Regions from separate parts of the Homo sapiens genome. Here regions 1 and 3 are each linked to region 2. The links are contacts of gene promoters, found by promoter capture Hi-C in blood cells and fetal thymus (Javierre and others, 2016). All regions are on one chromosome and are shown on one strand. Each heading gives the region's core, a stretch centred on a gene start or on the middle of the fragment in contact. The rest is flanking DNA. Distances are from core to core; before and after follow the strand shown. Region 1 overlaps PRKCQ (protein kinase C theta). Region 2 holds the start of IL15RA (interleukin 15 receptor subunit alpha). Region 3 overlaps LOC124902370 (a long non-coding RNA gene).

What was found. Contacts are between HindIII fragments. The CHiCAGO score rates a contact against its expected background, and 5 or more counts as called.
Region 1: a contact is called between a fragment that was not itself captured here and the fragment with the promoter of IL15RA in region 2, in 1 of 17 cell types (non-activated CD4 T cells). The highest score is 5.5, in non-activated CD4 T cells.
Region 3: a fragment that was not itself captured here is called in contact with the fragment with the promoter of IL15RA in region 2 in 7 of 17 cell types (naive B cells, M1 macrophages, total B cells and 4 more); the score reaches 6.6 in naive B cells.

What each region holds. Positions count from the first base shown.
Region 1 is chr10:6,425,322-6,428,836 of GRCh38, reverse strand. PRKCQ (protein kinase C theta) reads left to right here. Exons shown (of 18, transcript NM_006257.5): 18 at 475-1,689. The coding sequence ends at 630. Among named protein-coding and RNA genes, the nearest start is that of LINC02656, 77 kb to the right of the region's middle. The HindIII fragment of the contact is 3,583 bases long and covers 1-3,203 here.
Region 2 is chr10:5,975,789-5,979,473 of GRCh38, reverse strand. IL15RA (interleukin 15 receptor subunit alpha) reads left to right here and starts at 1,931. Exons shown (of 7, transcript NM_002189.4): 1 at 1,931-2,069. The coding sequence starts at 1,982. RefSeq lists silencers at 1,168-1,837, 1,928-2,307 and enhancers at 3,198-3,277, 3,408-3,677. The HindIII fragment of the contact is 10,589 bases long and covers 1-3,685 here.
Region 3 is chr10:6,399,478-6,403,006 of GRCh38, reverse strand. It overlaps LOC124902370 (a long non-coding RNA gene), which reads left to right. Exons shown (of 2, transcript XR_007062044.1): 2 at 1,206-3,529. It also overlaps a transcript of PRKCQ not described here. Among named protein-coding and RNA genes, the nearest start is that of LINC02656, 51 kb to the right of the region's middle. The HindIII fragment of the contact is 5,114 bases long and covers 1-3,529 here.

The DNA of each region.
Region 1 (3,515 bases), core at 163-2,662, 450 kb before region 2:
AGCCAAGAACGTTGATAAAAGAACAGGAATATGTAATTGTGAAATTCCTTCTCTCTTCCCATCCCTCCGCTCACACCCCCTCACTCCCTCTCCCCACCACCCTCCCTTATCCCCACCTTGTGTTCCATGAAAACTGAAGAGGCAGAGGTCAAATTCAGGTGGATCACTTTTTCAAAGGTTGCCAACCCTGCTTCATGTAAACCATTAGAAACATTAGATCCCATTTGAATGTCTACAGTCGTAGTCTTTCTGTGAATTTATGAATTTATATTATTATTAAGCTGAGGACACAGGATCACAGCCATGTTCAATGAGAGCTGGGCATGGTCATCTGTAGGCATTGCCTCCATTTAGTGTCTCTGCAAACACCAACTTTGCCATACGCAGATCACGGCCTAGATAACAAAAGTGAAGATCATGAACTTAATGGCTGATTTTTCTTCTCTTTCTTTCTTCCCTTAAACTCTGACTAAGAAATCACCATTTGACTGCAGCAATTTCGACAAAGAATTCTTAAACGAGAAGCCCCGGCTGTCATTTGCCGACAGAGCACTGATCAACAGCATGGACCAGAATATGTTCAGGAACTTTTCCTTCATGAACCCCGGGATGGAGCGGCTGATATCCTGAATCTTGCCCCTCCAGAGACAGGAAAGAATTTGCCTTCTCCCTGGGAACTGGTTCAAGAGACACTGCTTGGGTTCCTTTTTCAACTTGGAAAAAGAAAGAAACACTCAACAATAAAGACTGAGACCCGTTCGCCCCCATGTGACTTTTATCTGTAGCAGAAACCAAGTCTACTTCACTAATGACGATGCCGTGTGTCTCGTCTCCTGACATGTCTCACAGACGCTCCTGAAGTTAGGTCATTACTAACCATAGTTATTTACTTGAAAGATGGGTCTCCGCACTTGGAAAGGTTTCAAGACTTGATACTGCAATAAATTATGGCTCTTCACCTGGGCGCCAACTGCTGATCAATGAAATGCTTGTTGAATCAGGGGCAAACGGAGTACAGACGTCTCAAGACTGAAACGGCCCCATTGCCTGGTCTAGTAGCGGATCTCACTCAGCCGCAGACAAGTAATCACTAACCCGTTTTATTCTATTCCTATCTGTGGATGTGTAAATGGCTGGGGGGCCAGCCCTGGATAGGTTTTTATGGGAATTCTTTACAATAAACATAGCTTGTAACTTGAGATCTACAAATCCATTCATCCTGATTGGGCATGAAATCCATGGTCAAGAGGACAAGTGGAAAGTGAGAGGGAAGGTTTGCTAGACACCTTCGCTTGTTATCTTGTCAAGATAGAAAAGATAGTATCATTTCACCCTTGCCAGTAAAAACCTTTCCATCCACCCATTCTCAGCAGACTCCAGTATTGGCACAGTCACTCACTGCCATTCTCACACTATAACAAGAAAAGAAATGAAGTGCATAAGTCTCCTGGGAAAAGAACCTTAACCCCTTCTCGTGCCATGACTGGTGATTTCATGACTCATAAGCCCCTCCGTAGGCATCATTCAAGATCAATGGCCCATGCATGCTGTTTGCAGCAGTCAATTGAGTTGAATTAGAATTCCAACCATACATTTTAAAGGTATTTGTGCTGTGTGTATATTTTGATAAAATGTTGTGACTTCATGGCAAACAGGTGGATGTGTAAAAATGGAATAAAAAAAAAAAAAGAGTCCTCTTAATCGTTTACTTCCCCGCTTGCCCCCCACAAGAACTTGCTTCTGCTGTGTCAGTCCTCAAAATGTAGCTAGCATTGAGATGATGTTTTACAGTTGGGGGATTGGCTGGGCACGATGGCTCACGCCTGTAATCCCAGCACTTTGGGAGGCCAATGTGGGCAGATCACCTAAGGTCAGGAGTTCGAGACCAGCCTGGCCAATATGGTGAAACCCTGTCTCTACTAAAAATACAAAAATTAGCCAGGCGTGGTGGCGGGGGCCTATAATCCCAGCTACCTGGGAGGCTGAGGCAGGAGTAGAGTAAGACAAAGGGTGAGGAAGTCAGATGACATTAAGGCAATTGTAAGAAAAGCAAGTCTGCATAATATTCGGAGTCACTAGCCTACCTCATCACATGGCTGGAAATAACTTTAGATATTATATTTAAAATAGAATAATTAATATAAGCAGACTGTTGACAGTCTGCAGGTGTGCTGGAACATTTTCCTGACTATACGGAGCTCTTGTGATTTTTTTTAAATAGACACTCCCCTAAAATGAACACGAGTAACCTCATTTAAGGATGGGCATCTATCTTCAGATGTGTCCATTCAGGTGTCCGGGCCCTTTGTTCTGAAAATAGCACCATGACTACAAACCTCTAGTTATGTGAGAAGGCGACACTTGTCCTCCCCTTGCTCCAAATGAAAATGCTCACACATGTTTACCAAATTCACCTGCTTGAAGGAGGGAGAGGGTCCTTTAAGGCCCTGGATGGGCCAGTGGAGGGCAGGGAGCCGCCCGTTCTGTTCTGATCTCTGCTCTGCTTTGCATTTGCTGTGAAGCCCTGAACAAGTCATTTCATCTTTTGGGGCCTCCAAGTAATGGAGGTGAAGATGCTGTCTAAAGTCCCGTCTCACTAGAGTGATGGGGTCGGTGAAGACGCTATCTAAAGTCCCTTCTCACTAGAGCAATGGGGTTGGTGAAGACGCTATCTAAAGTCCTCACTAGAGCGCTTTCTGGTTCTAAATCTGAATCAAAATCCTGCAAAGTTAAAAGGTCAGTGAGCAACACTTTCCAAAACACAGACACTCGTGGATTCCACTCGCTGCAGGCCTGGGGGCAGCTCTACCCCATTTTCCTTCCAGTCGTCCTCTCCTCACTCTGGGTTCCCACATACCCCTGCCCCAGCACCCAGCATCCTCCTGACACCCAGAGACCCCAACAGGACCCCTACCAGGAGACAAATAAGTGAAGACTGTTGGCTCTTAGAAACAGGAACCAACGCAACTTTTATCCCCTCCACTAGACCAAAATAAGGTCTATTCATCATTTGGTTTTGTTTGTTTTATTTTTTATTTTTTTGAATTAGAGACAGAGTCTCCCTATGTTTCCTAGGCTGGTCTTGAACTCCTGGACTCAAATGATCCCCCTGCCTCACTCTACCAAAGTGCTGGGATTACAGGCCTCATCATTTGTTTTTAATAAATGTCATCTGTATGAATATGTCAGGTGACTAACAAGCTTACTATTTGCTTCGTATTTCTGAGTGTGCGAAGTACTTGTTACTTCCTTCTATTCTTTCAGGTGTCCTCTGAAATTGCTTATTAATATCCCTATTTAATAGGTGAGAGACCTGGCCAGGTGCGGTGGTTCACGCCTGTAATCCCAGCACTTTGGGAGACCCAGGCAGGCAGATCATGAGGTCAGGAGTTTGAGACCAGCCTGACCAACATGGTGAAACCCCGTCTACTAAAAATACAAAAAATTAGCTGAGCATGGTGGCACGCGTCTGTAATCCCAGCTACTCAGGAGGCTGAGGCAGGAGAATCGCTTGA
Region 2 (3,685 bases), core at 682-3,181:
AATCAATGCTAGTTAGAAGGTATATTGATACAAGACTTTTGGAAAGCAAGATAGAAATATTTGTTTAAAAGAGAAAAAGCCTTTAAAAATATTCCCTACCAGTTGACTCAATAGTTCCACTGTAGGAAATCTATTCTAAGCGATCTTAAATTCACAAGATTTTGTAGAAAGACATTTATGACAATGTTATCTTTAATATTAAAATAATAGAGGGGATGTTAAACTATGATAATTTGCAGCCATTAAAAACTTTTACAAAGAGTCTGTAATAATGGAGAAATCTCTACTTCATAAATGTCCATAGAATAAAAAATGCTCTATTGTATACATGCTATGCTTAGCCTGCATTCAATAAACCCTCAATATATTTGAGAATATTAAGGAATATTGTTAATTTTTAAATTTGATCTTATCATCTTGAGATTTATTATTAAGTATTGAGAGAAATTGAATAATGTGGGATTTCCCCAGTTGGAGTAAGGGTGGCTATTCCTGCTTAGAAAAAAAGAATGGACCTTGTGTGGTCACTGCCGGATGGTAGGTTCATTATTCTTTCTACTTTTTTTTTTTAAATTTAAGAGACAGGAACTGGCTGTGTTGCCCAGGCTGGAGTGCAGTGGTGCGATCTCAGCTCACTGCAACCTCAGCCTCCTGGGTTCAAGTGATTCTCCTGCCTCAGCCTCCTGAATAGCTGGGATTACAGGCGCCCGCCACCATGCCCAGCTAATTTTGGTATTTTTAGTAGAGATGGGGTTTCACCATGTTGGCCAGGCTAGTCTCGAATTCCTGACTTCAGGCGATCCACCTGCCTTGGCCTCCGAAAGTGCTTGGATTTCAGGAGTGGCCACCGCGCTCGGCCCTAAATTCTTTTATTTAACTTTTAAGTTCAGGGTTATAAGTGCAGGTTTGTTATAAAGGTAAACCTGTGTCTTGGGGGATTATTGTACAGATTATTTCGTTTTCAAAGAGAATTTGCAAGTATGTCACAAAAGCCTCATAAACACGTTGTGAGATTTTAAGAGGCAATGACCGAGGCTTGGAGATGTCTCGTCCTGTCCAATGTCACCGCTAGACCTGAGAATCTGCACTTGGGAGCTTACAGACCCGGTTCTCAGGCTTCACTTGAGACCCCAAGAAAGAAAAAAACCCACCAGCCAAAGAGGAGGATGGCAGCCTGGAAGAACCTAAGGAAGCGAGGCTCAGAGGTGAAGCACTGTGGCTCCTCTCCCCCTTCTCCCCCCTCCGCCCCCTCTCCTTCTAAGATGAGGCATTTTCTAGGGGAGCAAAGCTGCAGCAGGAATTCGGCGAAGTGGCGGAGCTGGGGCCCCAGCGGGCGCCGGGGGCCGCGGGAGCCAGCAGGTGGCGGGGGCTGCGCTCCGCCCGGGCCAGAGCGCACCAGGCAGGTGCCCGCGCCTCCGCACCGCGGCGACACCTCCGCGGGCACTCACCCAGGCCGGCCGCTCACAACCGAGCGCAGGGCCGCGGAGGGAGACCAGGAAAGCCGAAGGCGGAGCAGCTGGAGGCGACCAGCGCCGGGCGAGGTCAAGTGGATCCGAGCCGCAGAGAGGGCTGGAGAGAGTCTGCTCTCCGATGACTTTGCCCACTCTCTTCGCAGTGGGGACACCGGACCGAGTGCACACTGGAGGTCCCAGAGCACGACGAGCGCGGAGGACCGGGAGGCTCCCGGGCTTGCGTGGGTAAGGTCCTGGGTCCCCACCGGGCACGGCCCATGCGTCCCGGGGACAGGGGTGGCTGTGCGGTGCCGCGGCGGCCGGCGGGGCTCCTTCCCCAGCAGGGGTGGGGACGCTGAGTCACGGATCTGTCACCGCTTTGCACCTCTCCGAGCCCTCGGGGGCCAAAGCAAAAGCGAAAGCGAATGCGACTGGCGGGGCGGCAGGTCCCAGAGCAGCGCTCGCCACCTCCCCCCGGCCTGGGCAGCGCTCGCCCGGGGAGTCCAGCGGTGTCCTGTGGAGCTGCCGCCATGGCCCCGCGGCGGGCGCGCGGCTGCCGGACCCTCGGTCTCCCGGCGCTGCTACTGCTGCTGCTGCTCCGGCCGCCGGCGACGCGGGGTAGGGAGCTGGGAGCAGGGGCGCCCGGGCGGGACTTGGAAGGGGGCCGGGACGTGGAGCTGGAGGGAACCGGGCGCCCCATCTCCCCGGGCCGTGCGGGGGCGTCGGTGCCCTCGGGAGCGCGGTGCGCGCAGGCCCAGGCCGGGGAGGGGACGCGGCGCCGGGCAGGAGGGACACGTGCCGGGAGCCGGGGTCGCAGGGAGAGCGCCGCCGCTGCGCCCGGGTCACCCACGTAAGGGAGCGGGCGGCCTGGCTGGGGTCTCCGAGGCCGAGGTCAGGAGCAGTTCTGAGAAGCCCGTTTTGGCCACGGGAGCGCGGAGCCGGCGGCGTCCAGCAGTTTGGAGACACGGGCGAGTGCGCTTCTCCCAGGCGCCTGGACTGCAGGGCGGGTGTTGCATAGCACGCGGTCCTCGGAGGGGTCCGGGAGAAACTACTCCTCCCGACTCCCAGGCAAAAGTAAATTATGTCAGTGGGAGCTGGGAGGGTGGGGAGGAGCTGTGTCCCAGGGGGAAACGCGTCGGGCAAGTTGCACACCTGGGGACCTGGAAACAACTTCCAATTCTTAAGCGATCAGGAAACCAGCAGAGGCGGTCGGGACCGGATGGGGGTGGGGAGTGGGGGCCAGCCTGGAGTCTACACTCGCAGAAAAAGGGGGAAGAGATCTGTGATCGCTTGGTGTATTCGAGAAGAAAGCGGGTCGCGGAGCTCTGATCTCGGCAGGGAGGACGGAATGAGCGATTCCTAGGGGTTTTGTCCCGGCAGCCAGAGGAAGGAGGAAAACAGTAGCAGGGTCTAGCTCTATCCTTGTCAGCGCTTCTTTATCTTTTTATAGTCAGGGAGCTCTTGGAGGGTCTGATGAAAGCTATGAACCCCCGGCCCCCAGAAAAATGCATGAATGAACATAGTTACAAAATGTGCATATGATTTTGGGGTCAAAGCCCCACTGAAGGCCATCCATGGACTCTCTATAGGAATTAGTAACGCCATGATCTGTGTGTGTTTTTAAGCGAGACCCTGAATAATTTACATCCAGTCGGGCCAGTCTGCCCAGGCCCTGGCCAAAGCCATTCCACGCACAGTTGCTGCTGCCTGGTGTGGCCTGAACGCCCCCCCACCCTCTGCCACCCCCACCCCAGCTCTGCGAGGCTTCTTGAAGTTTCGTTTTCATGAGACTCTGATGCTTGGATTTCCCCCCACATCTGAGAAGCAGAGTTAGTTGGTGACCGGTTGGTTCCTCCCAGTTGGCTAGCAGTGTCACAGGACCCCATAGCTGGCAACTGGGGCAGCTGGATTACACAATATGAAAGTGAAATGCAGCCTTAGTCAAAGCCCAGCAGAGAGGAGGTGTCTTCCTTGAAGACTGAGTGGATAGGGGAGCACCACTGTGAGATCTCTGATCTCATCAGCTGCACAGCCTTGCCCTTTGACCTTAGAAAGATGTTGCTACCTTCCCTTCCCAAAGCTCTCAATGTTTTTTCTTTTTCTTTTTCTTTCTTTCTTGTTTTCTTTTTTGAGACGGAGTCTCACTCTGTCACCCCGGCTGGGGTGCAGTAGCGCGATCTCAGCTCACTGCAACCTCCGCCTCCTGGGTTCAAGCGATTCTGCTGCCTCAGCCT
Region 3 (3,529 bases), core at 738-3,237, 420 kb before region 2:
AGCAGCAGCCAGGTGGTCAGGAGATAGTGTGCAGACACTGAATTAAAAAGTGGTCCTAATTCCCTTCATGGAATTCTTTTTGTTTCTATTTGGTTTTGAGACAGAGTCTCATTCTGTTGCCCAGGCTAGAGTGCAGTGACACAATCTCAGCTCACTGCAACCTCCACCTCCTGGATTCAAGTGATTCTCCTGTCTCAGCCTCCAAAGTAGCTGGGACTACAGGTGCCCACGACCACACTTGGCTAATTTTTGTACTTTTAGTAGAAACGGGGTTTTGCCATGTTAGCCAGGCTGGTCTCGAACTCTTGACCTCAAGTGCTGGGATTTACGGGCATGAGCCACCCTGCCCGGCCCTTAATAGAACTCTTAAAGGCCACACAGTGCTTCACTTTATACAAGAAAGCTCGGAACAGAAAAAGTAGTTACTGCCACTCTTCTTTGAAATTGTTAAGTCCCCTTTGCTTCTTTGGGTACACGGAGAAGTTGCCAAGGCAACCCGAGCAGGGAGATGCGGAGTCAGGCTTTTCTGTCTGTGTCCTTCATGTTGGGTACAGTGCTTCACACATGGTAGGCGTGAGGGAGGAAAGAGCGGAAGGAATAGATGAAGCTCAGCTTTTTTTTTTTTTTTTTTTTTTGGCATTGAAATTGCACTCTTTTGGGGTTTTTTAAAATTATAGTTTAAGTTCTGGGGTAGATGTGCAGAACACGCAGTTTTGTTACATAGGTATGCACGTGCCATGGTGGTCTCCTGCACCCATCAACATTAGGTATTTCTCCTAATGCTATCCCTCCCCTAGTCCCCAATCCCCCAACAGGCCCCGGTGTGTGATGTTCCCCTCCCTGCGTCCATGCGTTCTCATTGTTCAACTCCCACTTATGAGTGAGAACATGCGGTGTTTGGTTTTCTGTTCTTGTGTTAGTTTGCCGAGAATGATGGTTTCCAGCTTCTTTGCAGCGTCTGTGTTCTTCCAATAGTTCCCAGCCGCACTATTTTGGACTTGAGTCACTAGAGGGAGGCAGAGGAACATGAAAAAGCTGCAGTTTCCGTCCCTGCTGGGCAGGGCTGCCTCAGACCTGAGCTGAGGACTCAGGAACTTCAGTGACCAGGCAGGATTAGAGATGGGAAGAATTCCAGGCTTCAGCCTTCCCCTTAATTCAAGATGTGTATTCTGCCTTTAATCAGAGTGTAACCTATGTATTTGTAGGAAATAATAAGAAAAAAGCTGCTTATTGCAGAGCCATGTAGAATTATCGGGTGGAAGTCAGAGAAAGAGACGGCGGGTCAACAGCTCCCAGCAGACAGCGTGACTCAGCAGGAAAGCCCGTGGGAATCAGAGCTTTGGGACCAGAGTGCCCTGGCCCCGCAATCCTCACCAAGTGGCTGGCGCTCAGAACCCCAGGTGTTGTAATCAGTAAAAGGGTGGCGGTAATCACTTCTACCTCATTGGGTTACTATACAAAGCACGAAAATGGATCAATATTTAAAAAAAAAAAACCAGCCCTCTCCTAAAACAGAGGAGAACTATATGGATGTCAATCCAATTATTACTATTAACCATGTGTTCAAGTCATGAGGTTGTCTACTTAATTATGTCCTTAAAGTTTGTTGACCTTAAATAAGGTGATACAGAAAATATGATGAAGTATGGGGTTTATTTGAGTACAGAGCTTGAGAACGGTCACCCGGAAAACACAGACCCCAAAGGGACATGCTCTAAAGTGGGGAAGCTAAGGCTGTGCTTACATAGGTAGAGATGGTTTCGGCAGGTTGCAATGTTTTCCGTGCAAGGCTAGATACATGTCATAGCGATTTGATTAGGGTGGCTTGCTCCATTCCATGGAAGATGGCTGTAATGTTCTGTGAGGACAAGAGTAATGTTCTGAGGGGTCACCACTCAGAGGGTCTTATTTCTGGTGCTACTCGGTCATTCCTAATCGTTTACGGGAAAAAGCAGAAGTTGCAACGGCATGCTATGTGACTCAGTCCATTTCTCTCAAGGCTCAGAATAAAGTTCCAACAGTTTTAAATTTGAATTATTTAATTTTGCAAGTTCTCCAGAAGACAGTAAGCTCTAAAAGGGAACGAACTATGGTCGTTGTTCTTAGCATCTAACATGGTACCCATTCAATATTTTTTCTTTCTTTCTTCTGCTTTTTGTAGAAGTGGGGTCTTTCTATGTCGCCCAGGCTAGATTTGAACCCCTGGGCTCAAGCATCGTCCCACCTCAGCCTGCCGAGCACCCAGGACTGTAGGTGCATGCCAGCTGGCAGATTTTTTTTTTTTTTTTCAGTTTCTTAAATGAATGAGTAAAAACACTTACATGTAGCCAAACCATATAATTTACTAGCTAAAATGAGCCTTTTTTTTTTTTTTTCTGAAAGGAAGCACTGTTAGCAATTACTCCAGGAAACAGGTTAAAAGCAGAACTGTCCTGGGCCTGCCGAGACACGGGACGTGGGATTGCTCGAGAGATCCAGCTCTCGCTGTGTGTTGAAATATAGTTCAGGGCACACTGCTCAGGGCTGGGACTGCCCTGCGTATATGACAGTATTAAGTCATCTCACCTGCATAACAACACAGCGAGGTTGGTACTGTGACTACTCACATTCAACAAATGTGTATGGACCACCTGCTGTCTTCCAAGTCTTCCAGAATCTTGGAATGCATCAAAACACAACAAGCAAGATGTCTGTCCTTTCAGAGCAGGAGATGAGGAAGACAGACAGTAAATCACAAACATAGCAAACAAGTAAATTACATAGTTTGCTAAAAGGTACTGGGGCTACAGATGAAAGAAGGGCAGAGCCGGGGGATTCAGTGTTGAATGAGGAAACTCAGGTAGAGAACACCAAGTCAGCAGCCGACATCTCCAGCTGGCTAGTAACAGAGCCCCATTCTAACTTGGGCAATCTGGCCACGTTCCTGCTCTTCACCTGGACTCTGCCTTCTCTTTCAGTTCTGACGTGCGTCAAACCGTGCAGCATGTTCAAATTCATTCAAATCCATCAGTGGCACAGAAGAACACACAAAATCTGGCAATACTTCCTTGAACTAAACTCAGTGTCCGCCCCCCCAACCCCCGATTGATGCCAGACATTTGCCACCCTGGGGACTTGATCTGAGTGACCTTGGGTTCATAGGAGATGCTGGGCCCTTGGAATTGATTGTCTACCCTGTAGGAATGGAGGCCACATCTCTGTTCTGCCTGGAGAACTTTTTCATCATGAGTTTGTGGAATCCGCCAGCCAAGCCCACCAGACAGGACTAAACAAACGACTCTAGGGGGAAAGGCCAGGCTTCCTGAAAGTCTAAATTGCTTGAACTAATGCTGGCATTTCAGCATTTTGAGCCATTCAAGCCACATGATGTCAAACTTCCTCTCCTCCACCCCCATCTCCTCACCCTGCTCTCTTCTGCCTCTTGACCTTCCTCATCTTGTGGCTCTGGCAAAACTCCAGGGTGGCTATTCAACCTGTCTCAACACACCCTGTGCCAAAAAAAAATAAAAAGAAGGAAAAAAAAAAGGGG